4 separate regions of the Homo sapiens genome follow, and regions 2, 3 and 4 are each linked to region 1. The links are contacts of gene promoters, found by promoter capture Hi-C in blood cells and fetal thymus (Javierre and others, 2016). All regions are on one chromosome and are shown on one strand. The core of a region is centred on a gene start or on the middle of the fragment in contact, and the rest is flanking DNA. Distances in the headings are between cores, read along the strand shown.

Region 1 (6,758 bases), core at 860-3,359:
CCATTCCTACCCAAAACAAGAGCAGAATAATGATATCCAGTTGATGTTGTCGGTGGGTGCTGGCCTCTCCACAATCATTTATCATTGTTTGAAAATGAATGTCATGTCCTTTAGTACATACTTAAATTAAAAAGAACTAGCACAGTGTAAAAGCAAATGAAATCATTTTTTCCTCCCCCAGAATATGCCGGATTTAATCCAAACCTTTAAACAAGGTAACATTAAGCAGGCAAATGAATTCTTTGATAACACTAAATACGTAAATAGGAAAGTCAAATGACGTATGCATCCCTTATGGGTCCTCTGTCGGGCGAGCATTTGGACCAAAACGCTTATTCTGATTTTGATCCCATTCAGAGAAAGATCTGACTCTAACTGAGTAAAATATTCGAGAGACGCAATTCCCCTTTCCTACCCCCACAAACTCATTAATGAGCATGCTCTAAGGATAGTTTACTAACTTTTTTTTTTCCCATCAGGGTCTCAGTCTTGGAGAGTAAGGTGAATTAGGAATTTCCATAACCAATACTCCCCAGCTCTTTGTTCTTTAACACACTTGAAACCTTCTGAATCTGCAGTACCCACAAAGCCTTATTCAAATTATTGTATTTAGTTGGGAATGCTTAGAGGTGGGAGTGGAGGTGGGGGAGGAGGCAGTACAATGAAGAAAAAGAAGTTGAACCTTTGAAAATAGTACATTTTAGTATGATGATGGAGAGAAGAGAGGCAGAAAAGCAAATTCGCATCAGTTCAGTTGCCATGGAGTGGAATGATGCTCAAAATCAGTAGTGCAGATTGCTCGGAGGCAAGTCTTGAAAGGGATGTGTACTGCAGGGATCGATAGGGGAAGAGCAACTGGGGAGGGCTAGGCACTGGATGAGAGTGGCACTGTTGGAAGTCTGTACAGGGGAGGAGCCATGGTTGGACCTGTGGGGAAAGCCCATCTTGTGGCGACACACTGGTAAGGGCTACTCAACTCACTGTTGAATGCTGGCACAATAATTGGAAATATTGCACTGAAGAATTGGGCGCGGCTATATTTATGTAAAATTCAACACGGATGAGAAATGATTGAATGTTTGAGTGTGTTTCCAATACAACCCAATACTTGGCGTTGGTGCTGGTGGTGGGTGCTTCGTAGCGCGGAAACCCTCTGACGCACTGGATTCATTTTGCAGAGCTAACAAGTTATCAGCTACATCCATGCCGACTCCAAATGCCACAGCTGTCATGCCACTGAAACGCTATTCCTACATTCATGCCCACATTTATATCCTATATGCAACTCAAAGGGTCCAATGTGGAGTCCCACATCTAACCTTTCACTGCTCACAACGACAGCTCTAGGGCTATAAGCCCAAAGGCACACTAGATAGCAATCTGGCATCGTCCCCAGGACACTTCTTCCTCAGTAGACTGCCCAGGGACAGATAGGTAGATAAGGTTTGGATGACATCAAGCGAGCTGAACACAAGGAAAAAAAGCTTCCTTGGGAGACAAGAATGCTGGCATCTCTACGACAGGGGCACTGTTAGCATTACGGACCTAGAAAGTGAGATGTCACACATAGTCCCAACTACCTCCGACCCAGGTCCTCTCACCTCACCCCCAGCTCTTAGAGCTAGTCGGCTGTGGCGCATGCGCACTGAGCCACACCCGCTCCCCACGGAGCCCTGCGCCTCTCTGCTCGGCTCTGGCAGCAGCTCGGGATTACTCAGCAACGCCCCCCTGCACTGTCACCTGCCCCCGACTCCGACCTCGGGAGCGGCTCAGTCCCTTTTCTCAAGCTACGAGTGGTCCTGGGGATCAACTAGACTTTCCTTTCTCCCTCTTCTCACAGGCCCCCCACCTCCCGGCCTTCCGGGTCCTCCAGCCCCTAGCCCCTGTTCCTGCCCACGCACAGGCACCTTACCCAACACAATGGGAAGGAAACAGGAGAGGGCCGCGGGTGCCAGGCAGGTCAGCTCTGCGTGCCGGGAATCCGGCTCCTTAGAGTCACCGTCACTGCTCCTGCTGCCTCCTCGTCCTCAATGGGGCAGCAAGTGCGGCTTGGACCTCGGTGGCCTGACAGCTGCCGCTCGCGCCCGCCGCTGCCGCCGCGCAGCGTCTCGAGCCCGCGCCCGCGCCCGCCAGGGGAGGGGGCGGGGCCCGCGCCGCCTCCTCGTGCCCCTTTCTCGGCGGTGGGGACCCGGTGTAGCCGCCTCCCGCCCTCCATGTGGCAAGCGCTCCCTGGCTCGCCCACTCTTCTTTCATGCTCATCGTCCAACCCTGGTCTCCCTTGTCCTCCTTCTCCTCCCCTAGCCGATTAGTAGGCACAGCGGCAATAGACCGTCAAATATTGCTCTTCCACTTAGCTCCTCTGCAGCCTGGGCCTAAGCCCTCAAGCAGGGCTAGCCACTGCCCCACTTCCTGCAATTATCCTCTGATCTACCTCATTTATCCTAGCTCAAAATCCTTTAATTTTGCCAAGAGGGTAGTACATACACCCTCTTGTTTCAAATAACTCAGGAAAACACATGATCACAACACATTGCTAGGCCCTCTAACTGGCTACAGCTTATGAAATTTTCAGGCAATTAAAAAAAATGTCCACATCTGTAGCGCAGGCATAGAGGACACACTGCCCTTTACTCTTACCAGATACAGTTCTAGAGGGCCACACAGGGGGCATTACTTGAATTTCCCGGAATTGCTGCTGGGGCAGAATTTGATGTTTTAATTGTGCCTAGCCGACCAGCTAGTCTCTTTTTGTTGTTTTCTGTAGCCCTCTGGTACTTCCAACTAGTTTGTGATTTTCCCCCTGGAATTGAAGAAGGACAAAGCTCCTGAGGTCATTTAGCCTGCACTCCACCTCTCTGTCAGGCAGCTCCATCTCTGAAGCTTCCCCATTGCCCGAAACCCTGTGACCTTGTGGCACAGGCCCTCACTCATCTCATGACCCCGTCCAGGCCCTCACACATACCCGCTACTTCCATCTAGGCCACTCTTCCTCTGTCTCTTGACAAGGCAATCGTGCAATCAATCTCCGCAGGCCCCAGCTTAAATGTCACTTCTCAGGATAACCTTTCTCGATAATCTCAGAATAGAGATGGTGCCCCAGTTTATACTCTTGTAGCCTCCTGTAACTTGCTGTATTTTTCCTTCATAACACTTACCCATTTTTGGTGGTACATTTAAGTGTATGATTATTTGGTTGACAGCTGTCTTCCCTACTAAACTATAGTGGGGAAGGACTATGAGGTCAAGGACAACGTTTGTGTTCACCACCGTATGCACAGAGCCTAGGGCAATGCTTGCTGCATAGGACATGCTCAGAAAATATTTGCTGAATATGAATGAATGCTGTATCACTAATAGTTGTTATATTTAAATAAAATAAATTGATGTAACTGAATCTCATGTGCTCCTATTTAAACCAACCCCGTTCCCCACACATACACTCTAAAACACTCTTCTGATGAAGACGAGATTCACACAATCCTCTAAATCAAATTTTCCGCATACATTTTAGTCTATTAAAAAACTATTGAGCATGGGCCCCAACATATGTATAAGGATTTATAGATTATATACATGTACTACTGTACATGTATACATTACACATTACTTTAAACATACATTTTAATGAGTAAACATTAAAATACTCCACAGAAATTTTAAAAGAATGAGAAAAATAAATATATTGATGTTCCAATGTTTTCTTTTTGCACCTCAATAAATAGTTTTGTGAAATGCTTTAAATAACAGTCCTTCATATTAGAGTAACTCGTCTTTAGGTGTAACAATCTAGACTACTTTTTCATTTTCTCATAGATGCCATTTTCCAACAGTTTAAAAATCTCTGAGAAACCCCCAAACCAACTGGCAAGTTTTAAGGATCTTTTAGTTTCTAAGCTACCTCGTTCTGTAGTCAGGATCTCACAACTGCTGAAAGCACCACACGTTTAGTGAATGTTGGAACACCTAAAGGTAAGAAAAATCCTTTGTTAGACCAAAGATTCCTACATGTAAATCCTATATTAAAAGAGTCTCTAGAGGCCACTTAAAAAGCAGCTACTATTATCTTTCTAGAATGGAAGCAACATGACTAACACTAGTTGTGAGGGATCAGCAAAAATGGACAGCACGAAGATTCAAAGTAACAGCTGTGGATGGTTTTGTGGCTCTCAGATGGGACTATTCCCAATGGTCAATCATTGAGATCTGTCAAATAGTGTCCTTCACACACAATAAAAATTCTATTTTTATAACACAGTTACACACACACACACACACACACAATAGAATCATAGTGTAGTCGGTAGATAGAAGGCCAAACCAAGATTGCGTTTGGATACCAGAGATAGGGTTACCTTCAGAGTCACACACACACACACACACACACACACACATACGCTCTTCAACATTCAATGAACAAGATCTCCCAAAGTCTCATCCTGATCAGTTTGAAATACATTGACCTGAGCTTCAGGAAGACATAATTGTAATGTGATTAATTTAAAAGAACAGCCTGGTCCAGCAGTCACAAGTTGTTATGTACAAGAGGGTTCCGTGAAGCATTCAAATAAGTGTATAAACACTGCATACTATTTCCCTTCCAGAAGAGTCACGTTGCATATTAAAACATTAACGTCTCTTGGAGTCCTGAAGTAAAGAAATCTGTTGTGTTGTTTTTCAATCTTACATTTCCAAAACTTTTGTGAACATGAATTTCTTTTGTTTATGGAACATCTATTAGCAGGACTAGAACAGCTCAGGACCCAATTTAGCAACTACTGTCCTAATCATTAATATTGAACATATTCATAGGCCAACGTATTTGTCATCTTTGTCCTAGAATATTTATGTGGCAACTATACACGTTATATTTTCCAGATAGTCCTGATTTCAAATACTTTGTCCTATTGTCCTAATTTTTACAACAATACTCATGAGATCATCTAATGTTTTATTCAGAAATTATGGCAGTCATAGATATGTAAATAGGAAATTAGTAAGAATTTGTGAACTATTTACCTATCATTGTCCAAGAGCAAGTCACAGTTTCTGGTGATACAATATTTTTTTAAAAAATCATTTGACACAGGGATAATATTATGGAATAGGAATACTTTGCCAGATTTTTCATAGCCTGAAGGAAAGATCTCTTAAGATTATCCAATTATGGAAGGCATCAGTATGAACTCAGTTTAGTCATTTAAAAAAAATTTTTAAGCTCTGTCCACTAAAAATACTTAGAAACAATGAAAATCTCAGTGTCCAAATTCACCTATAGTGCCCATAGGATGGTTCTAAATGCTATTTCCCAATAAAAGGACCCAGGATTACTTAAATAAATGGCTGACTTCAGATATGTGGCAAGAAATATCCAAGATGAACATAAAATATCTTGTCACACCAGATAGCAAGGAAGCTAAAAACATTATTAGAGTTGAGTCAAAAGGACTTGAAGAGGCTGTCATCAGTCAAACACGGGGCAATTTGAGCATCAGTAAAGATAATAACTACAATGAATTGAAATATATCAAATATGTTTAAATATACAAATTCATAAAAACACTTAAAAACATAATTGCTCAATTTGGCCAAACCTAGAAAGCTAGCTCATTATTTTAAAACTGGTAAATAAAGAGAGTGACTCAAACATTTAACCTGCTTTTTTTAAATACAAATTATTCCTTGGTGTAACAAAGGAGTTGGCGAGGAAAGTGTTTTAAAAAGATTCCCAGCTAATAAATTATGAAGGAATGATAAAATTACAACCTTTAATGAATTAGTGGATCTAGGTAATAATAGTTAATGTCTTCTAACATTACAAAAGGAGTGTTAACCATATATCATATGCCTCTTGATGGAAAAACACAGCAGCACATAGAAAGTATTTTTTGTCAAAAAATGCAATTTGAACCCTATCAAGCTCCTAGATATAACTATGAATTTTTAGAAAAATACAAGGAAAAATATGTTAACATTGTAGGGATGTAAGCAACAACATCCAGACTTAGGTTTAGAGTGCAGGTGTGTGTGTGTGTGGTTTAGAGTGCAGGTGTGTGTGTGTGTGTCTGTGTGTTGAGGGGGGAGAAACTGCAGAAAAAAACGTGGTTTCTTCAACAAATAAATTTTAAGAAAGAATACAAAAATGAAAGTTAAAAAGAATGCATTTACAATGACATCAAAGAGAATGAAATATTTAGAAGTAAATTTTAAAAAAGAAGTGCAAAAAAAAGAAGTGCAAAAGTAACACTCTTAAAAACACAAAACTTTGTTGAAAGAAATTAAAAAAGATCTAAATAAACGGAAAGATATCATATGTTTGTGGATTGAAAGACAATATTTATAAGGTGGAAATACTCTTCAAATTGATCTACAGATTCAACGCAATTCCTGTCAGAACCCCAGCTGGCTTCTTTGTAGAAATTTACAAGCTGATCCTAATATTCTTATGGAAACTCAAGGAACCCAGAATAGCCAACACAATCCCGCAAGAGAACTCAGCCTTTTCAATTTCAAAACTTACTACAAAACTACAGTTACCAAAATAGTGTGGTACTGGCATAAGGCTAACATGTAGATCAGTAAAATATAATTGAGAATCCAGAAATAAACACACGTGTCTATGGTCAATTGATTTTCAACAAAGCTGCCAAGGCCATTTAATGGGGAAAGAATAGATTTTTTCAACAAAGTGTGCTGGAATAACAGGATAGCCACATGCAGAAGAATGAAGTGGGACCCTCACCTCACAGCACATACAAAAT
Region 2 (6,534 bases), core at 849-3,348, 290 kb after region 1:
CTCTTGGTGGAGGGAGATGGAGGCTCAGCTTCATGTGCTCTGCCCATCACCACCTCCCCCTCCTCCGCATTCCATGATGGCCTTAAGCCTCAGCCTCCTTAATGCTCATGGCCAGTAGACTGGGAGGGCCCCTCTGCCTCTGACCTTTTAGCTGAGAACTGAGCAGGAGTAAAGGTCCAAGAGACCCACTTTTTGCATCCCTCTGGGGCACCTCTGGCTCCTGGCAGCCACCTCCATCTCACCACAGGCAAAGAGGACCCCACCACCCACGCAGGAGGCAGCTTCATCAAGCCCCCAAAGCCACAGGGTCCCCCAACACTACCTGGCTCTTACAGCCCCCTATTCCTCCCTACCTCTCCCAAAGTCTATCCTTGGAGGGGATTTGCCCACTCATCTCTCCAAGATTAGAATATAGTTCCCCTTGCTGCTCACCTTTTCTCAAATTCACTCTATAAATGCTATTGAATGATTTACCTAGATATGCTGTCATAATTTCTTTCTGAAACCAGGTAGAGTGAAAAGAGGAATAAATGCTACACCTACCCCCATCCTCCTTTTCACTGGAGTTAGCTTGGAGGTTCAAGATCATTACTTTGAAACCCTGCTGTGTAATTCATCCCCTTTCCTTCCCCCCCATCCTGTCCTCTGTTGTGTAAACCTGAAACTGTCTAAATTTTTACTTCACCAAAATGATGCAAAAGTGAGACTTTTTATTTCATTTTGTGTCACACTGGCTTTCCTTTATTCAAGAAGTATGTATTTTCCCTAATTGGAAGACAAAGAAGACTTGGAGTGATTACAGGGTTAAGTGAAAGAAGGCTTTTAAAAAATTTTGTGTTTGATACCCTTCATTTATAATTATTGTTTTTCCTTTCCTTTCTCCCTTCATTCTCATTAGTCGCCAAGAGATGAAAATTGCTCTTTTGTCTTGTCAGGAGAAACCAGCCTTTGAATGACCTCCTTTTGCAATATCTCCCTCCTTCTTGATACTATTTTCCCTTGTTTCCATGACATCCATCTCATGGTTTCCCTCTCCCAGATCTTTTTGATGCCTACTTCTCAGTGTCTTTTGCCGAATATTCTTTCCCTTCCTGATCCTTCCACAATAGCAATAAAAATTAAAATCACTGCAAGTGCGATTTATTCCAAGCTTATTACATGCCAGGCACCCAGTGCCAAGCCTTTAAAATGCATTATTAGCTTTTCATAGCAACTCCCTTAAGATAAGCATGACTTTCTATTTCTAACTTGCTATTAATTTAATTACTATTAATTGACACATATTTCAGATGATGAAACAGGCTGGGAAGTTAGGAAACGTACTTAGGGTCATGTAATTATTTAGTGGTACAGTCAAGGATAAGACACTGGACTGACTGATCCCAAAGTCTGTGTTCCTTACTTGAGTTAGCCATCATGTGCACAGCACCCCATGAGGTAGGTGTTACTATTATATAAAGATGATACATGAGGAAAGCAAGGTCAACAGACATAATTAGCCAAATATCATAGCAGCAAGTGGCTTGTGCGCCATACACAAGGATGCAGCCTTTAAGGAATACTTGTGTGACACAGGCCACCTTTCTTTCACATCCTCTTGTTGCAGCTATCCTTCCTGCTGCCTGGCAACCATCCCCTCCCCCTTCAGAGTTGCATTATCACATTCAGTTCAGGTATCAAGTTTCCAGTCTATGCTTTTGGTGCAAATGGTTTTGAATTTGATGTATGCAAGAGGAGACAGCTGCAACAATGAGTGGAGGAGAGATAAATTGTTCAATTCATGGTGCTGGGGGGAACTTCATTACCTGATTGGAAAAAAGGTCAGTTTCCTTTCTCCCATGACACTAAATATGAATCCCAGATACATTTGAGCAGTAAATGTAGATTTTATGCAATTATGTATTAATTCTTCTTTAATCGTATATTTTGTTATAAAATGAATAAAAAGAATCAAATGTTCAAAAGCAACCCCTTTTAAAGCTGCAACACAATACATGTTAAACCTCTGGGTTGGAGAGAACTTTCTATGGTTAAGAGTAATGAAAGAAAGTATAAAAGAAAAGACTGATAACTCAGAAGACAGCATTAACAGAAATAAAATACCAACAGTAAGCTGAGAAACATTGGCAACAAATATCATGGAAAGGGGGCAGGGCTGGCAACAAATAAGAGAAGCAATAATAACAGCAAATCTGTATTGTGTTTAGATAGTTAACATTTATTAAGGTCTTACAAAGTGCCAGGCATATTCTACAAGCTCTACATGGCTTTATACTTCATTTCATTCTTACAACAAGCCCTGAGATAGATCTTATCTTAAAATTTCCACATTCTAAAACACTCTTTAAGCGGGGGGCGGGGGGAGCAGAGGAAAGTGCATAAAATATAAATTTACAGCTTAACAAATTATTATAAAGCAAATCACCATAAAGATCAAGAAACAGAACAGATCAGAACTCCAGAAATTCCCATAAGTCCTTGCCCAATCACAACCTCTTTCCTCTCTCCAAAACAAAACAAAACACTCTCATGACAGTTTTAGCTGTTGCTTTCTTACTTTCCTTTATAGCTTTACCACTCAAATATAGATGCCCAAACACTACTGTTTCTGGAGCTTTATGTAAATAGAACTATAATGCATATATCCTTCTATATCCAGCTCATTGCCCTTACAATTATGCTTCTGAGATTCAACCTGGTTGCATGCGGCATCGGTTCATCATTCTCAGTATTGTGTTACAGCTTTCCATTCTACGACTTTACAAGAAATTATCCTTTTACTGTCGGTGGACATTTGGACTGTTTCCAGTTGGGGACAATTATGAAAAATGTTGCTAAGAACATGTTTTTAATGTCTCCTGGTACATATGTGCACACACAAGGTATATATGTAGGAGAGGAATTGCTGGCTCATAGATTGTGTATATTTTCAACTTCACTAGATACCACCAAACTGTATATCAAAGTTGTACCAATTCCCACTTCCACCATCAATGTTTGAGAGTTCCTGTTGCTCCACATCCTCACAAACACTTGACATTGTCAACAAAGCTTCATAACTTTTGCTTGAGGTTTTGTACGTCTATTATTACATTTAGTTCAAGGTAATTGTGTATACTACTATAAATTAAATATTGGTTTAAATTTCATTTTCTAAGGGCTTGTTGATGGTATATAGAAATATAACTGGTCTTTTGATGTTGATATTGTACACTGACTTTGCTAATCTCTTAATAATTTTAATCTGTAGCTTCCTTAGAATTTTCTGCATACACAAGCATGTCATCTGTGAATGATGGTAGTTTTATTTCTTCTTTCCCAATCCATATACATTTCTTTTTCTTACCTTACTGCATCGACTGGGACCTAGAGTACAACTAGTGAGAAGAGACATTCTTGTCCTATTCCTGAACTCAAGGGACCACTTTGAGCAATTCAACATTAAGTGGATGCTTGCTGCAGGTTTTTAGTAAATACCACTTATCAGTTTAAAAATGTTTCCTTCCATTCCTAATTTACCATAAGTTTTTAAAATAATCAATGGATGCTGAATTTTATGAAATGCTTTTTCTGTATCTATTATATATGCTTTTTTCTCATTTATTAGTTAAAATGCTAAATTACATTATTTGGGTTTCTAATAATAAACCAACCAGGCATTCCTGAAATAAACAAGATTTGGTCCTGATTTATTACAATTGTTATATATTGCTGGATTCAATTTGCTAATATTTTGTTTAGGATTTTTAGATCTATGTCTGTAAGAGAGATTCACCTGTAATTTTCCTTTCTGTATAATGTCTTTGTGAGATTTTGGTATCAAAGGTTTGCTGGCCTCCTAAAACTAGTTGAGGAATACAATTCTTCTTTGGCTTTCTTCATTTAAAAACCAGGCAACTGAGGTCCAAGGTGTTTAGATTATTTTTCATAACTGCATTAAATCCAATTATTTACTTGTATCCATGATTTATTAAACCAGCCTCTTTAGAGCCATTCATTACCTTGTTTCCTTGTTTCACTGTTATAAACCCACTGAGAAAAGCATCCTTATTCACATACAGGTTTGCACATGTGAACGATTATTTCCTGAGGATACATTCCTAGAGGTGACGTTACTGGAACAAGCACTATGTTTCACAGGAACCAGAGCAGAAAGAGAGGTGGCCTGTGGCACATCCTACTTTAGTAGCTCTGGCTCACATTCAGGGCCCTTCCTCATCTCTTAAACTTGCTGGGAATACCCTTTAACTCTGAGCTACTAGAGACTTTAATACTTAATAATATTTAAAGGTCAACTCAGCTCTAAGAAACTCCCCAAATTAAGTTTTCAAATGATTTGGCAGGAGGAGCGGGTTGTTTTTAACATTTTCAATGGAACTTTCCAAACCCACATGAAATTATAGAAAATGAATGATGAATCCCCATGTACTCATCATTCAGCTTCAAGAATTATCAATATGTTGCATAATTTGTCTCATCCCCCACATTTTGATGAAGTATTTTAAAGCAATTACTAGACATCACATCAAATGGTATGATATATATATATATATATATATATATATATATATATATATATATATATATATATATATATATGAACATAGATATTTGGTAGAGATGGCAATCGCACTCTGTTGCCCAGGCTGGTCTCAAATTCCTGGCCTCAAGTGATCCTCCCGCCTTAGTCTCCCAAAGTGCTGGGATTACAGGTGTGAACCATCATCCCTGGCCTGATTCTTCTGTATTCTACCCATAGTTCTATCCCCCCTTTTTGTTCCAAAATTTTCATTGTGGTAAAAGTTACAAAAAATTCACCATTTTGACCATTTTAAAGTGTACAATTCAGTGGCATTTAGTACGCATTCCAAATATTTTTTATTTGTATATGTCTTTATTCTGAGTCCATTTTTCCAGAGGTTTATTAGTTTTTTGTACATATTTAGATGTCTGATTTCTTTTTTTTGTTTTTTTTTTTTGTTTTTTTTTTGAGACAGAGTCTCGCTCTGTTGCCCAGGCTAGAGTGCAGTGGTGTGATTTCTTCTCAGCAGGTGCAGACACTTCTCTGAAGACCAACAGCAGAACTGAGTCTCAGGATGGGTAAAGGCTTCTGTAAACCTCCAGATCCACAGCCCCAACTACTTTCCCTTCACCCTGGCTGAATACCACATCTTGAGGCAATCAATTACTAAAAGGCTGCTCACACTCTCTTTTTCCGTAATGAGACTACTTCAGCCCCCTTTTATTTGGCTACTCTAAATTCTCCTTTTATAGGGATACAACAGCCCTCAATGACTTCTTGAGGAAAAAGAAGATAATCACAAATTCAGTTTCAACAAGCAGGACATTTTGCTATACTGTACCAACTAAGCCATGTTCCTCAATCCAGCTTTTGGGAGTCTGAGAAGAAATACCTCTCAGAGCAGGGAGTCAAGGAGATATATTTTTATTCCAATCTGAATACTGTACTTTGTATAAAGGTGGCTGATCAGGTTGCCTGTGGAGAGGTTGGGTGGTTGGACAAGAAGAGGGATGTGATTTGGGCATTCCTGAACCTTTGGCTCCTTATCCTCAAAGGAGGAAAGGAACTTGGGCAAAGTAGTTAACTTCTCTGCTTCAGCTTCCTCACCAGTAAAACGGAGACAATAACAGGAAGTCCCTCACAGGGTTGTGGTAAGAATTAAATGAATGAACACTTGAGAAGTCTTTAAAAGAGTGCCTGGTGCACTGTAACTACTGTGCCATAGAATGCCATCATAACGACACCAATCGCTTCGCTCCAAACTCTCTGAGCACCCTTGTAGATGGATTACCTAAACCGTCCCTCCCAGACTCTTCACAGAGAATTTCATTAAAGTCAGTAGACTTCAGCTACTCTCTCTCATGTGCAGGGGAAAACAATATAATCCCTTTATGAGCTAACCAAATAAATTCTCTCAGGAACTGCCCTTGCATGAAGAACATACCTCCAGGGATGCTTGCTTAGTTGGGGAGGTGAGTGAGGCTCTCTGGACCTAGCTGAGATGGCCTGGACCTAAAGGAAGAGAGTAGCTCAAATTCCCCACAGAATAACTCAGAAACTTTGAAGGATGGGAGCTGGTAAGCCAAAGAGGTGAGGGAGCTCTAGGGTCAGGCAGGAAGCTCAATGGAAGAGAAATTTGAGAGAAATTGTTCTAATATTCTTCTGTGTAGTTTGCTGATTTGTTTATTTTTTTTTTTTACTTTTTTTCCCTTTTTTTAAAATTATACTTTAAGTTCTGGGATACATGTGCAGAACGTGCAGGTTACATAGGTATACACGTGCCATGGTGGTTTGCTGCATCCATCGACCTGTCATCTACATTAGGTATTTCTGCTAATGCTATCCCTCCTCTAGCCCCCTACCCCTCAACAGGCCCCGTTGTGTGATGTTCCCCTCCCTGTGTCCATGTGTTCTCATTGTTCAATTCCCACTTATAAGTGAGAATATGTGGTGTTTGGTTTTCTGTTCCTGTGTTAGTTTGCTGATAACAATGGTTTCCAGCTTCATCCATG
Region 3 (6,404 bases), core at 2,173-4,672, 270 kb after region 1:
ATTATATGTAAGAAACTCATAATAATCCCATTTGTGATAATCTGCTTTACTGTTAGTAATTGTTTAACAAAGCAACAAATAAAAATCCCAAAAAGGATATATTGAACACTATGAAGGATATTATGAAACTTGGAGAAACATTAAAATTCGAATTTCAACCATTATTTTTGTTTACATTAAAACTCAACAGTTGGCTGGGCACGGTGGCCCACGCCTGCAATCTCAGCACTTTGGGAGGCTGAGGCTGGTGGATCACGAGGTCAGGAGTTCAAGACCAGCCTGGCCAACATAGTGAAACCCCATCTCTACTAAAAATACAAAAATTAGGTGGGTATGGTAGTGCCTGCCTGTAGTCCCAGCTACTCAGGAGTCTGATGCAGGAAAATCGCTTGAACCTAGGAGGTGGAGGTTGCAGTGAGCTGAGATCGCGCCACCGCACTCCAGCTTGGGCAACAGAGTGAGACTTCGTCTCAAAAACAAACAAACAAACAAAAAAACCCTCAACAGTTAAGTTTTGCTGAAATTAAAATCTCAACAGTAATTTTGTGAAAAGAAAATCTCAGCATCTATTTCTGTACATATTAATAAGAATAGTTAAGAAACTCTTGAGGAATAAGAATGAAGTGGGAAGACTTTCCCTATCAGATATCAAGACATTTATTATTATTACTGTTACAGGTAATAAGGCAATGCTGTACTGGCACAAGGTTAGATAAATAAACTGATGGAATAGAACAGACAGGTCAGAAATAGTCCCAATAATATATGAAAACTTGATATTTGACAGAGTTGGCATTGTAACTGAATGGGAGAAGGAAAGACTTTTCAACAAATGATATTAGGGTATTGGATATTCATAAGGAAAAAAATTAGACCTCTATTCTCATACGCTACACGAAAATTAATTCCAAGTATATTAAAAACCCAAATATGAAAGTCAAAACCATAAAATTGTAAATGTTATTATAGTATAAAGGAATATCTTCATGATATTGGAGTATAGAAAGATTCCTTTGAAAAGACACAAAAGCACTTACCGTAAAAAAGGATTGATAACTTCGATATCTATCTTATAATTAGAACTTATGCTTATCAAAAGAAATCACTAAAATGGAAAAATAAGTGGCAAGGTGGGGAGAGATGTATGGAACACATATAAAAGAGGAAGAACTAAAATTAAAACAAATAACTTCTACAAATTAATTTGAAAAAGTCATACAACTCAACAGGAAAACATGACAAATGTCTAGAATAAATGCTTCACAAAAGAGGAAATCCTAATGTTCAATAGGCAAGTGAAAAGATGCTCAACATTATTAGTCATCAGGAAAATCAAATTAAGAGATGCCATTTACACCAACTAGATAGGCAAAAATTAAGAAGTCTGATAATACCAAGTGTTGGCCAGCAGGTGGAGCAATGGGAATTGTTAAACCTGGCTAGTAAGAGCGTGAATTGGTACATGCCATGAGGAAGTTAGGCATCATCCAATTAAATTGAAGGTGCTCGTATTCCATAAACCAGTAATTCCATTCTTACATAAGTGCCCTAGAGATACCTGTGTTTATACACACTACCAAGAACATTGATAGTAGCACCGTTTTGTAACAGTCAAAAATTAGGTTTCATCTCACCCCAGTTAAAATGGCCATTATCAGAAAGACAAAACAGAATCTGGCAAGGATGTGGAGAAAGGGGAACTCTCATACACTGTTATTGGGAATGTAAGATGGTACAGCCATTATGGAAAACGGTATGGGTGTCCCTCAAAAAACTAAAAATAGCACTACCATTATGATTCAGCAATCTTGCTGCTGGGTATATATCCAAAAAAATTTTTTTAACAGTATATTGAAAAGATATCTGCACTCCTATGTTTATTGCGGCACTATTTACAAGATCCAAGTTATGGAATCAACCTAAGTGTCCATCAATAAATAAATGGATAAAGAAAATGTGATATATGTACACGATTTAATAGTATTCAGCTATAAAAAAAATAATGCAATCCTGTCATTTGTGGCAACATAGATGAGCTTGGAGGATTTTTTGTGAAGTGAAATGTGAAGTGAAATAAGCCAGGCTCAGAAAGACAAATATCACATGTCCTCACTCATATGTGGGAGCTAAAAAAGTTGATCTCAAGGAGGTGGAGAGTAGAACTGTGGTTACCAGAGGCTGGGAAGGGTACTGCAGAGGAGTGAATGAAGAGAGATTGGTTAATGGGTGCAAAAATACAGTTAGAGAGAAGGAATAAGATCTAGTGTTCAATACCACAACAGAGTGACCACAGTATTCAATTTATTGTGTATTTCAAAATAGCTAGAAGAGAAGATTTGGAATGTTCCCAATGCAAAGAAATGATAAATGTTTGAGCTGATGGATATCCCAATTACCTTGATTTAATCATTACACATTGTACACATGTATCAAAATATCACATATACCCCATAAACATATACAATTATTATACATCAATAAAACTAATGAACTGTAAAAATAAAACCTGCAAACAACCAGAATGTTCCTCAAAGTTATCATGAATAAATCATGGTATATTTATACAATGGTAAACTGTACAACAATAAAAATGGATCAACTACAGCTATCTGCAATATCAATGAGTCTCACAAGCAATGTGGAGTGAAACAAGATAGTCACAATTCCAAGTCTAAAAAGCATTTAATGTTTGAACATCTGTAAAACAAAACTGTTGTTTAGAGATGCTTATAAGGAAGAAAACTTATAAACAAAAGCAAAGAAATTATTATTACAAAAGTCAGCATGGGGGCTACACCTAAGATGGAGGGAGCGGTGTCATCAGTGGTGGGGGGAGAAGAGTAGGTTATTAAAGGGCTCTATTTCTTGCTCTGGCTGGTTATTACATGGGTGATGGCTTTGTAAATGTTCTTTAAACTGGCAGTTCTCTTCTGAATGTATCTGTTTTCTTAATGAAATAGAAAGTAGGGTCACTAGTTGGAAATGATGAGGGAGGGAGTATTAAAAGATTTGAGGAAAGGAAGATGATATGAAAGAACCAGAGACACTGGAGAGTGAACAGACTAGAGAAATACAATATTTTTATCTTTTCTGAAAGCTTTTTATATTGTTTCTGATTTATTATGCTTTTTCTCTCATATGCAACGTCATTTTATTAACTTTAATATACTACACTATATATAGTTATCCCAGTAAAATTATAATGCTATTTAGTGTTTAAAAATAAATTGTAAATGCAAAATTAAGTCAGAATATACCATATAATGATTTGTCATAAAACGTTATTATTTCAACTTGAGCTTTATAAAAGCTGATGTAGTTTATATTTAGAGAAAAATATATATCACGCATATATTGTGTTGTATGATGGCTTTTTATTCTTTTTTTTGACTTTTTATACCAAGTAATTTTAGTGTTAAATTGTATATTTTATGTGTTTAAACAGATATAGATATTTATTACCTCCTTATTTTATTGGTCTCAACTCCTAAAACTCATTTTTAATATCAGAAAACATAGCTCCATTAACATCACTAAACTAAATATTAACATTGACATTTAAAATTACTTGAAAACGACTATGCCCTTAAATTTTGCTCACAACTTTTAAGTGGAAAAAGTTGACAGGTCTGTATAATTTTACAATATTGCCTAGGATTTCATATGAACCGATTTGAAAAACTCAATTATTTAAATTATAACATGCTTTAGTTGTAAATCCATGTTTATATTATAATTGCATAGCTTCAAGCTTCAACATACATAAAGTTTTTATAAAGGCAAATATAGTAAATTTAAGCAATTATTAGCAATTTAGCTTTAAAATATACTCCGAGGGGAAAATACCCAAACTTTTTGCATTGCTCTTACACCACGGCAATCAGCACAGAATATTTCCATGTCCAGATGTGTGGAGTTTTCCCACACACTAAGTGAGCAATCAGTTCTGCAGCGAACACCAGCTGGGTGTACTCCAATTCCATTCTGACACAATCTACCTGGAGATAGCGTCATATCCCACAAGCTGAGGACTAGGTTTCACAAGACTGTTCCCAGGCCCTTCAGACACCAGTCGCAAATCCAAGCCTCCAGAACTTCTGACAGATGGGCTTCAAGTTTGAGTTCACATGACCCCTTCTTTGGGTTTAATTTGCCAGAAAGGGTCACAGAACTTGGGGAAATACTTAACGTTTACCACTTTATTATAAAGGATATATCAAAGGATAGAGATGAAGAGATGCATAGGGTGAGGTACTGCGGAAGGGGCTCAGAGCTTCTGTGCCCTCCCTGGGTCACCACCCTCCAGGAACCTCCACATGTTCAGCTATCTGGAAGCTCTCCAAACCCAGTGCTTTGGGGTTTTTATGGAAGCTTCATTGCGTAGGCATGATTGATTAAATCATTGGCCACTGGTGATCAACTTAACCTTCCATCCCTCTCCCCTCCCTGGAGGTCGGGAATGAGGCTGTTAAGTCCCAACCCTCTAATGGTGCCTTGGTCTTCCTGGTGACTAGTTCCCATCCTGAAGCAACCAGAGGCTGCCAGCCATCAGTCAATTATTAGCATACAAAAAGATATCACTTTGGAAATTCTAAGGATTTTAGGAGTTGTATGCCAAGAAACAGGATCAAAGACCAAGTATATATTTCACAATATCACATATATTGTGTGAGTTTTCATTTTATTATATTCTGTAATAACTGTCCCATTGTCAGAGATAAAACACGGTCTCTTAAAAAATAATTTGGATCTACAAACATTGAATCTAGGAATATTGAAAACTGATGTATGCAACTCTCAGATAGTTCAGGGAAAAAATATCCTGTGTGTGTATAGACAGAGTGCACACTTAAATAATAAAGCAAATGGGGAGAAACATTAATAATAGGGGAATTAGGGTAAAGGGGACATGGGTGTTCTTTAAGCTTTATTTATGCTTGCAACATTTTTAAATGTTTGAAATTATTTTTAAATAAGAAGTTAAAATGAAGAAAGGGACATGGATGGACAGAATGACATAAGTGGAAATCACCAGTGTACTTGGGAGATGAATGCATCTTTTTCCTTTCCTTATGCAGACTCTGTGTTCATACTTCCTTGAATCCACAAGTTGAGTACTGTCCCAACACATCCCGATCTGCAGATGTGGAAGCTCATCTTCAGCTCTCCTGGACCAGCCATTTTCTGCCAACCTTGGTGGCAAATGCTCTCTGACATCATACCTCCAACAACCATGTCTTTAATTTCTGTGGCATTCAGTGAGAAGTTCTCACTGCTAAATCTACAACCAAGTAAGACAAATACAGGACAAATTTGGTTCAGTAAGGAGATGCAAGAGGAGGGCATTACTAAGATATCTGTAGGGGGAAACTATAACACATGTCATCTTGGAAATCCTCAAAATTCCAGAGTTGAAACAAATGGTACAGTTGTACAGTGTGATTCTGTTTGTGAAATTTCAGTTCCTGAACTGGTGCTAATAGCAAACATGCCATCAGTAATATAAACTCATCAAATGTGCCAGTTGAAAGTAATTTTTATTATTGTTATTATTATTATCAGTAGCAGCATCATTATCATTAGCACAAAACTAAATCAATTATTAAAAGAAAGCAAAAACACAGCCCAAAGGCACGTGTCTTGCTGACAGTGAGTCAATAACTTTATCGTCATGTACAAGGGACAGCACCCTGAGGATATACCATATCACAGCTTGATAATCAACTCAGTAATTTGACCAACGTTATTGAGCACCTAGGCACAATGGAAGATTTTAAAATGCATACAAAAATCCCTGCTTTCAATGAGTTTTACAGTCTAGTAGGAGGTATTGAAGAATACAAGAACAAAGGGTCACATGAGATTAGTGACATAATGGAATCAGTACCCTGTATGAAGTGCTGTTAGAAAGGGGCATCACAGAGGCTGGGCGCGGTGGCTCACGCCTGTAATCCCAGCACTTTGGGAGACCGAGGTGGGTGGATCACCTGATGAGGTTGGGAGTTCGAGACCAGCCTGACCAACATGGAGAGACCCCATCTCTACTAAAAATACAAAATTAGCCAGGCATGGTGGTGGGCGCCTGTAATTCCAGCTACTCGGGAGGCTGAGGCAGGAGAATCACTTGAATCCGGGAGGTGGAGGTTGCAGTGAGCTGAGATCACACCATTGGCACTCCAGCCTGGGCAACAAGAGCGAAACTCCGTCTCAAAAAAAAAAAAAAGAAAGGGGCATCACAGAGACTAATGTCACATTCAGTTGGGGAAAATCAAGAACTCCATAGAGAAGGTGACCTCTGAGCTGGGCTTCAAGGAACTGGAAGGATTTTGGTAGACTGGCATGTGAAGAAGGAGCACTGCAGGTGGAAAGAATAGTGTGGGCCAGAGTATGGCCATGGGAAAGTT
Region 4 (6,794 bases), core at 2,297-4,796, 260 kb before region 1:
AAAATATTTGCAAATCATATATCTCATAAGGGACTAATATTTAGAATATATAAATAACTCCTACAACTCAACAATAAAAAAAATAATCGAATTAAAAACTCGGCAAAGGACCTGAATGACTATTACTCCAAAGGAGATATACAGATTGCCAATAAGTACACGAAAAGATGCTCAACATCACTAATTAGTAAGGAAATGCAAATCAAACCACACAATGAGATACCACTTCACATTCATTAGGATGGCTATTATACGAGAAAAAAAAAATAACAAGTATTGGCAAGGATGCAGAGAAACTGGAACCCTTGTGCATTGTTGATGGAAATGTAAAATGGTACAGCCACTGTGGAAAACAGCATGGCAATTCCTCAAAAAATTAAACATACAATTAATATATGATCCATCAATTCCACTTTGAGTACATATCCAAAAGAATTGAAAGCAGGAGCTTGAATAGATATTGTATGCCAATGGTCAATAACAGCATTATTCACAATAGCCAAAAGATGGAAACAACCCAAGTGTCCACCAAGGGATGAATAAATAAATAAAATGTGATATAGACATACAATGGAATATTATTCAACCTTAGAAAGGAATAAAATTCTGATACATGCTATAACATGGATGAACCTTGAAGACATTATGCTAAGTGATATAAGCCAGACACAAAAGACAAATATTGTATGATTCCATTTATATGGGGTACCTAGAGTAGTCAAATTCATAGAGACAGAAAGTAGAATGGTGGTTACCAGGGACTGGGTTTTGGGGGGAATGGGAGGTTGTTGTTTAATGGGTACAGCTTCAGTTTGGGAAGATGAAAAAGTCTGGAGACAGATGGTGATAATGGTTGCACAACAATGTGAATATATTTCATGTCACTAAACTGTACACCAAAAATGATCTATATGGTAAATTTTGTTTTTTATATATATATATATATAAATACAGTAAAAAAGTCCAATGTCATCATTATGAAAACTCTTAGCAATGCATACTAAAGAAGGACTATATAGTAAATTAGGATTTCTGCTGTACCTGTGTAAATAAACAAGCCAAATCTAATGAGTTCAGCCTCATTTTGTGGTCAAGAATAACCATACTTTGAAATTAATGTTTATCAAAAATAGAAAAACTATAGGAAAAATGTTCTTCAAAGGAAAATTGTGTGTTATTTATAGTACACCCTTCTGGGTTGTTTGATTCTGATTCTATGGGAGCAATATTATAGCTCTGTACACTTTTAGTTACTTAAAGAAATGGAAATAATTCCAGTCTATAAATATGCAAATGAATTTTGTACAGTGAGGGTGTGGAAAAGAATGGCCTTCCTCTCTTGCGGCAAAGCCTGAGAAAGAGGTTATTTTCAGTTTAAAAATAATGAAGCTTTAAAATTTCATGCAGTCATATCTGTTAATATTTATTATATTAAATAGTAAAACAGAAATTTTTAATATATTTATATTAATTCATGTTAAACTTACAATAAAATATCCATTACATTCTGTAAACCTACATTGTAAATTTATATGAAAAATATGTTTTCTAAAACAAGTCATAAGGAGATGGACTTTTTATTTGAAAATCTCTTTAATATTTATTCTAACAGAAGTCTGTTGAATTCTTATATATGTTCCTGCAATTAATCTGTTGAATATAATATATAAGGTATCTCTGGAAAATTTCAGCATATATTTGTGAGGGAATGAGAATGAAAAATATAGATAACATCTTACAGGTCCCGTGAATGGCTTACCTACAAAAATAACTAAAAGAACTGATTCGTTAGTAAAGTGGTATAATGCAACATTATTAAGTATAACCCACTATTTTATTTTTTAAACAAATTGGACCATAGATACATTAAACTAAAATTGATAATATCTAGTTTGTTGTAAAAAAAATGTTTTAAAATTAGCAGGACATCACACTTCAAGAACTAAAGTAGATTCAATGTTACTGGAACATGGTTCTTACCTTTGGTTTTCAATACAGCGTGTTTGTGGATATCCCCAGACAGCATCAGGCTCGGGTGGTCTGGATCTCTCTGGAGGTGATAGTGGAGCACTCAGTGTAGCAACCTGGCAGCCAGCCTTGGTGGTGATGTGCTCAAAGATGTCGATAAGAAAATCATTCATGATGCCCAAGAAATTTAATGTAGTGCTGATATCAGGATGAAATTGCTTCAGAACCCTGTAAACATAGATGTAAATATAGACAGTTACTCAACTGTCTCCATAGCATCTCTTTTCACATCTTCCCCTTCTGTGTTTTGGAAATGACTTTCTTAAAGCCCTTTTTATTAAAGTCAGATTTAGAAGAATGCTCAGCCATGACGGACATTGTTTTCAATACCTTGAAATGAAAAAGATAGTGGTTGGTGACAGGGTGGTGCCCATGTATAGGCCCTGTATTCAAATGAAGTACTGGGTACACACACAATTTCTAATTAGATGAAATGTAATTCGAGGAAACCCTGCCAATAAACCACACAATGGCAAATGTGATTGGATAGTTCTATGTGGCACAGTCCAATGAGAAGGCATGAAACGGTCAGGCTGACTGAAAGCTTCCTGTAGGCTCCACCAAGAGCACTTTGAAGATACCATCTACAGCAGCTAAATTGGAGCAATTTCAGCTTCAACTTGTTGAGTGATTCTGATCTCCATAACCCGGTCCGTAATGCCAGAGGAATGATGCTGGCCACGTTCGGGCCATTTGTCCAGTAACCCAGAATCTAATGTCACCCTGGGCTAAGCCACTGTGGCTTGAGCAGGAATCCTCCCACATGGGAGAGGAGCTCGTGGAAAACAAGAGACCTGGCTAACAAACCACTGCCTCCCATTCTTATCAAAAACCTCAATGACTCAAGGAAAGATGACAAAACTATGGTCTCCAAACAACACACACAAAAAACAGGAATATTTATTAAAATGTAAAATATTCATGAGCAATAAACAATTTAAAAATAGTTTTCTTGACAATACTTAGGTCCTAGAAACATACTTTAAACTGTATAATTTGTGGATAAATATCAGGGCTCTTGGCTGAAAAAAGTTACTAAACTAAACATCTAACTAAACTCCTTAGGGAGAAAAGGGAAATAATGTAGGAAATATTATTCAATGGAAAGGATATCTCTTTTAAATATCTATGATAATACAACTGAAAATATTGAATGAATGTATAAATTTGTGGAAAATATAAATGACAGAAACTAAACCCACTCTCCTCCCCACAAAAGAGATTTAAGGACTAAGAAGAATAGAAGAAATCGAGGTCACCAGTGAGCTACCATCCCAAAAGGCCAGGCTTCCAAAAGTATTTCATGTCAAACCACTAAGGAACAGGTGTTCTTTTCTCTTAATGGAACGGTGTCAGATTACGAAGGGAAAAAATATCATTTTGATGTAAGGAAAATATGCCAAAAAGAGTTCTGACCAGTGACATTTATAAGCGAGAATATAAAATCCTACATAAAATATTAGCAATTACATCTGGCATCATAGTTAATGATGAACAAAAAGGGACAAAGCAGGATTCATCCAAAAATACAAAGATGTTCCAGTAAAATACAAGTATGATTCACCTTATGATGTTAAAGGAAAAAAGGGTAATCTTCAGTTAATCTCAGTACATGATTTAACTTCCTTTGCTAATATAATGAGTTATACAATGTTTGTTTCATGGTAAAATACTAGCATTACCATCATTAGAGTCAGGATTCAGAAAAATTGAGCCCTCTCATCAAGACTATTATTTATCAAGATCTGGTGTATTTTTAAAAATCTTATAAAAGGACTTGAAAAAGGATTTTACTGCAGAGGAGACCTGGAAAACTACAACAAAATAATCTGCAAGTAAACTGCCCAAAGAGGTACCACATGATTGACTTACACATTTGGGACAACATTTTGGGAAACCAAGGCTTTTTTCAGAGCCATGTGTGGCTTGAAAAAAAGGCTTTCTCTTTCAGAGAAAGAGCTGTGGACATATTTGTAAAAAAACATTTCATTAAGTCACTTAATTTATATCATGCTGCTTCAAAATGCCAATGTCTGTCAGTGTGCCATACAAATGTTTTACCAAAATTATTCTAGCATATTGGTCTCATACACATTGTATTATGGAAAAAGGCATTTTTAATATATCAAATCCATGAGGACAGTTATAGCGCTTTTGCCATTTTCCTCTTGTAAATTCAGAAAGTAAATAGAAACATTAGTGAAAGAACATTAAAAATGCGTTATAATTTGGCTGAGAGTGCAGGGGTGATTGAGATAGATGAATCTGGTAAGTAAAGAAAAAAAACAAGGCTTGATGCTGAAAGGCTAGATGGGGCAATGAGTACATCTGATTATTAACCTGGTGGGTGCATGACGAACAAGGAGACTGGGCAAGAGTGCTCTAATTCTGTGTTAAAAAAAAAAAGACTAAGGGAAACAGCTTTAACTGCTGTAAATAACGTACTATAAGCAGGACTCCTGGGGAAACAGTGTTACTGGAATAAAAATATCACAAGCTTTTTTTGAATTCATGTTAATACATGATGAAAACAAAAAGCACAGAAATATATATCATAAATTTCAAGAAACAGTCCAATCCCCTTACCAAGCTCTCTGGACTCTGAAATTTGTATTCTATTTCATTGAGGCTTATTCAGTTCTGTTCTTTCCCAGTCAAAAGTCTTTTTAAAAATCATAAATCTTAATGAGCTGCAATTATGCCTGACTCAGATGATGTGAGCATTCAATGAGTGCAGCTCATACCCCACTCTCTGCTGGGTCAGCCAATGTAGGACCCGCAGCCCCTGAGCTATTGGCCCAGAGTGTGGGGAGGTGACCCTGCTGAACCAATAAGAGCCTTCCTGGGATGTTCAGCCTTGGATGTTGAAGAGGAAACTGGTGTGGCTCTTTGCTTAGGTTTGGTAGCTTTATTGTCTAATCTTTTGCTCCCAATCATGGAGATTTAAGGATATAAATTCAGGGCTAGTAGTTGTGGACATAATTCCTGCCTCATACATCATGTTAGTCCATTTGTGCTGCTAAATACCTGAGACTGGGTAATTTATAAGGAACAGAAAGTTATTTCTCACAATTCAGGAGGCACCAGCAAGTTTGATATCTGGTTGAAGGATCAGGTTCTGCTTCCAAGAAAGCATCTTGTTGCTGCATCCTCATTTGGAGGAAAGTGTAGGGACAAAAGGGGCCTACGCAGTTCCCTCCAGCCCTTTTATAAAGTCGTTTATCCTGTTCATGAGGGCAGAGCCCTCATAGCCTAATCACCTGCTAGGGCCCCCACCTCTGAATACCATTACATTGGATATTAAGTTTCAACATGAATTTTGGAGTAGACACAAACATTCAAACCATAGCACATGGCAACTGATTAAGAAAAATAATGTGACACACACACACACACACACACACACACACACACACAAGCTAAATGAATGTTATCTTATTTTTTTCACTTCCAAGCACATATGCCTGAAAATAAAACCCACCACCTCAACTTGGAAGGATGAAATCCCAGCTCCCAGTGCAGTCACCAGTACAATGGGTTTGGTCCTTATTCCTGGCCCCTTACTGCCCATCTCCTCTTTGATCCTGGCCTGTTACTACTGGATAAGAGGAGAATAAGGATGGTGTGAGGAGGAGAAAGTTTGAAAAAGTAGCCACTCTTTCCCCTTATCTTGAGGGACTTTAAAAACAAATCTAGGGTCATCGGCAGGTTTTGCCCAGTCCCTGAGGAGGACATTAGGGGAACATGAGAGCACCCAGACTTCTCTTTAGTGGGTCATCAGTCCAGTCCTTGCATGCTGACCCGTGGTCCATCTGAGAGATGTGATAGGCCAGCCCTGCCCCTCATGGCTTCTACTATTACTAAGTAATACCAAAACCCATCCATAATTTAACTACCTCTGCTTCCAAGATCTTTCCACACAGAGGTAAGTGTGAACAACATCAGCCTTTGGAGGTTGAAACTAGGCAGGGACCATATGGCTTTGGGTGGACCTGATGCTTGATCAGATATTTTGTCATGCACTATAAGGAATCTTGTTTTAAGAATAAATAATATGCATAGTCATTACACTTGTTAAAATAATTGTGAATAGTGAATTCTGTCCCTTCTAGTAACTGAGAGTCCTTTCCCAGATGGAATCTTCTCACAGAACTGAAGGACCTTACCCATGGCCGGGTAGGTTTTGGGTTAGGTCTGACACCAGAACCCAGGACGATCTCTTGAATTTCACTCCAGCGTCTGCTCTATCAGACATGGCATTAGACTGAGTGTTTGAGCCTATCAGAGACTCATAGAAACTGTGCCTCTCTGCATTAACCTGCTTGCCAAGAAATACGTTAAAATAAAATCTAAATGCTATGTTGATTTGCTTGATCTCCCTCAATATTCACTTGGTTAATTAATTCAAATTAAAATGTGTAAGCACATTTTTCTCTTAACAAACTCCAACAACTGGGGATATCAGCAATCATGCTGAATTCCAGGGGCTGCTTCTCCTTTTCACTGTCTTTGAATTTCTTCTTGTGGCCTCAAACCTGAACCCATTTTCAACTCCATAGGTATGTGGTTTTGTAGACAGGAGGGTGACAGAGGGATTACAATGGAAGTAGCAGTGCTATATTTGTGTTTTTATCCCATGTTGTTTGAAGCTGTAATTTGTTCATTTTCATTTCTGTGTTGTAATGCATTATAGGACTATAACACTATTCTTCTGTTGATGAACATTTGCATTGCTTTATGTTTTGTACTTAATGATCAATCTTGTT

What was found. Contacts are between HindIII fragments. The CHiCAGO score rates a contact against its expected background, and 5 or more counts as called.
Region 2: a fragment that was not itself captured here is called in contact with the fragment with the promoter of RAB9B in region 1 in 13 of 17 cell types (fetal thymus, megakaryocytes, naive B cells and 10 more); the score reaches 11.1 in fetal thymus.
Region 3: a contact is called between a fragment that was not itself captured here and the fragment with the promoter of RAB9B in region 1, in 1 of 17 cell types (fetal thymus). The highest score is 5.0, in fetal thymus.
Region 4: a contact is called between a fragment that was not itself captured here and the fragment with the promoter of RAB9B in region 1, in 1 of 17 cell types (naive B cells). The highest score is 5.5, in naive B cells.

Annotation. Positions count from the first base shown.
Region 1 is chrX:103,830,148-103,836,905 of GRCh38, forward strand. RAB9B (RAB9B, member RAS oncogene family) reads right to left here and starts at 2,110. Exons shown (of 3, transcript NM_016370.4): 1 at 1,913-2,110. The HindIII fragment of the contact is 1,396 bases long and covers 1,483-2,878 here.
Region 2 is chrX:104,117,338-104,123,871 of GRCh38, forward strand. All of the region lies in intron 1 of SLC25A53 (solute carrier family 25 member 53), which reads right to left. It overlaps LOC286437 (a long non-coding RNA gene), which reads right to left. Exons shown (of 1, transcript NR_039980.1): 1 at 4,968-6,534. Among named protein-coding and RNA genes, the nearest start is that of ZCCHC18, 8.1 kb to the left of the region's middle. The HindIII fragment of the contact is 1,901 bases long and covers 1,149-3,049 here.
Region 3 is chrX:104,096,930-104,103,333 of GRCh38, forward strand. SLC25A53 (solute carrier family 25 member 53) reads right to left here. Exons shown (of 2, transcript NM_001012755.5): 2 at 2,285-6,404. Among named protein-coding and RNA genes, the nearest start is that of ZCCHC18, 12 kb to the right of the region's middle. The HindIII fragment of the contact is 654 bases long and covers 3,096-3,749 here.
Region 4 is chrX:103,568,588-103,575,381 of GRCh38, forward strand. No RefSeq gene overlaps it. Among named protein-coding and RNA genes, the nearest start is that of TCEAL4, 14 kb to the right of the region's middle. The HindIII fragment of the contact is 1,953 bases long and covers 2,571-4,523 here.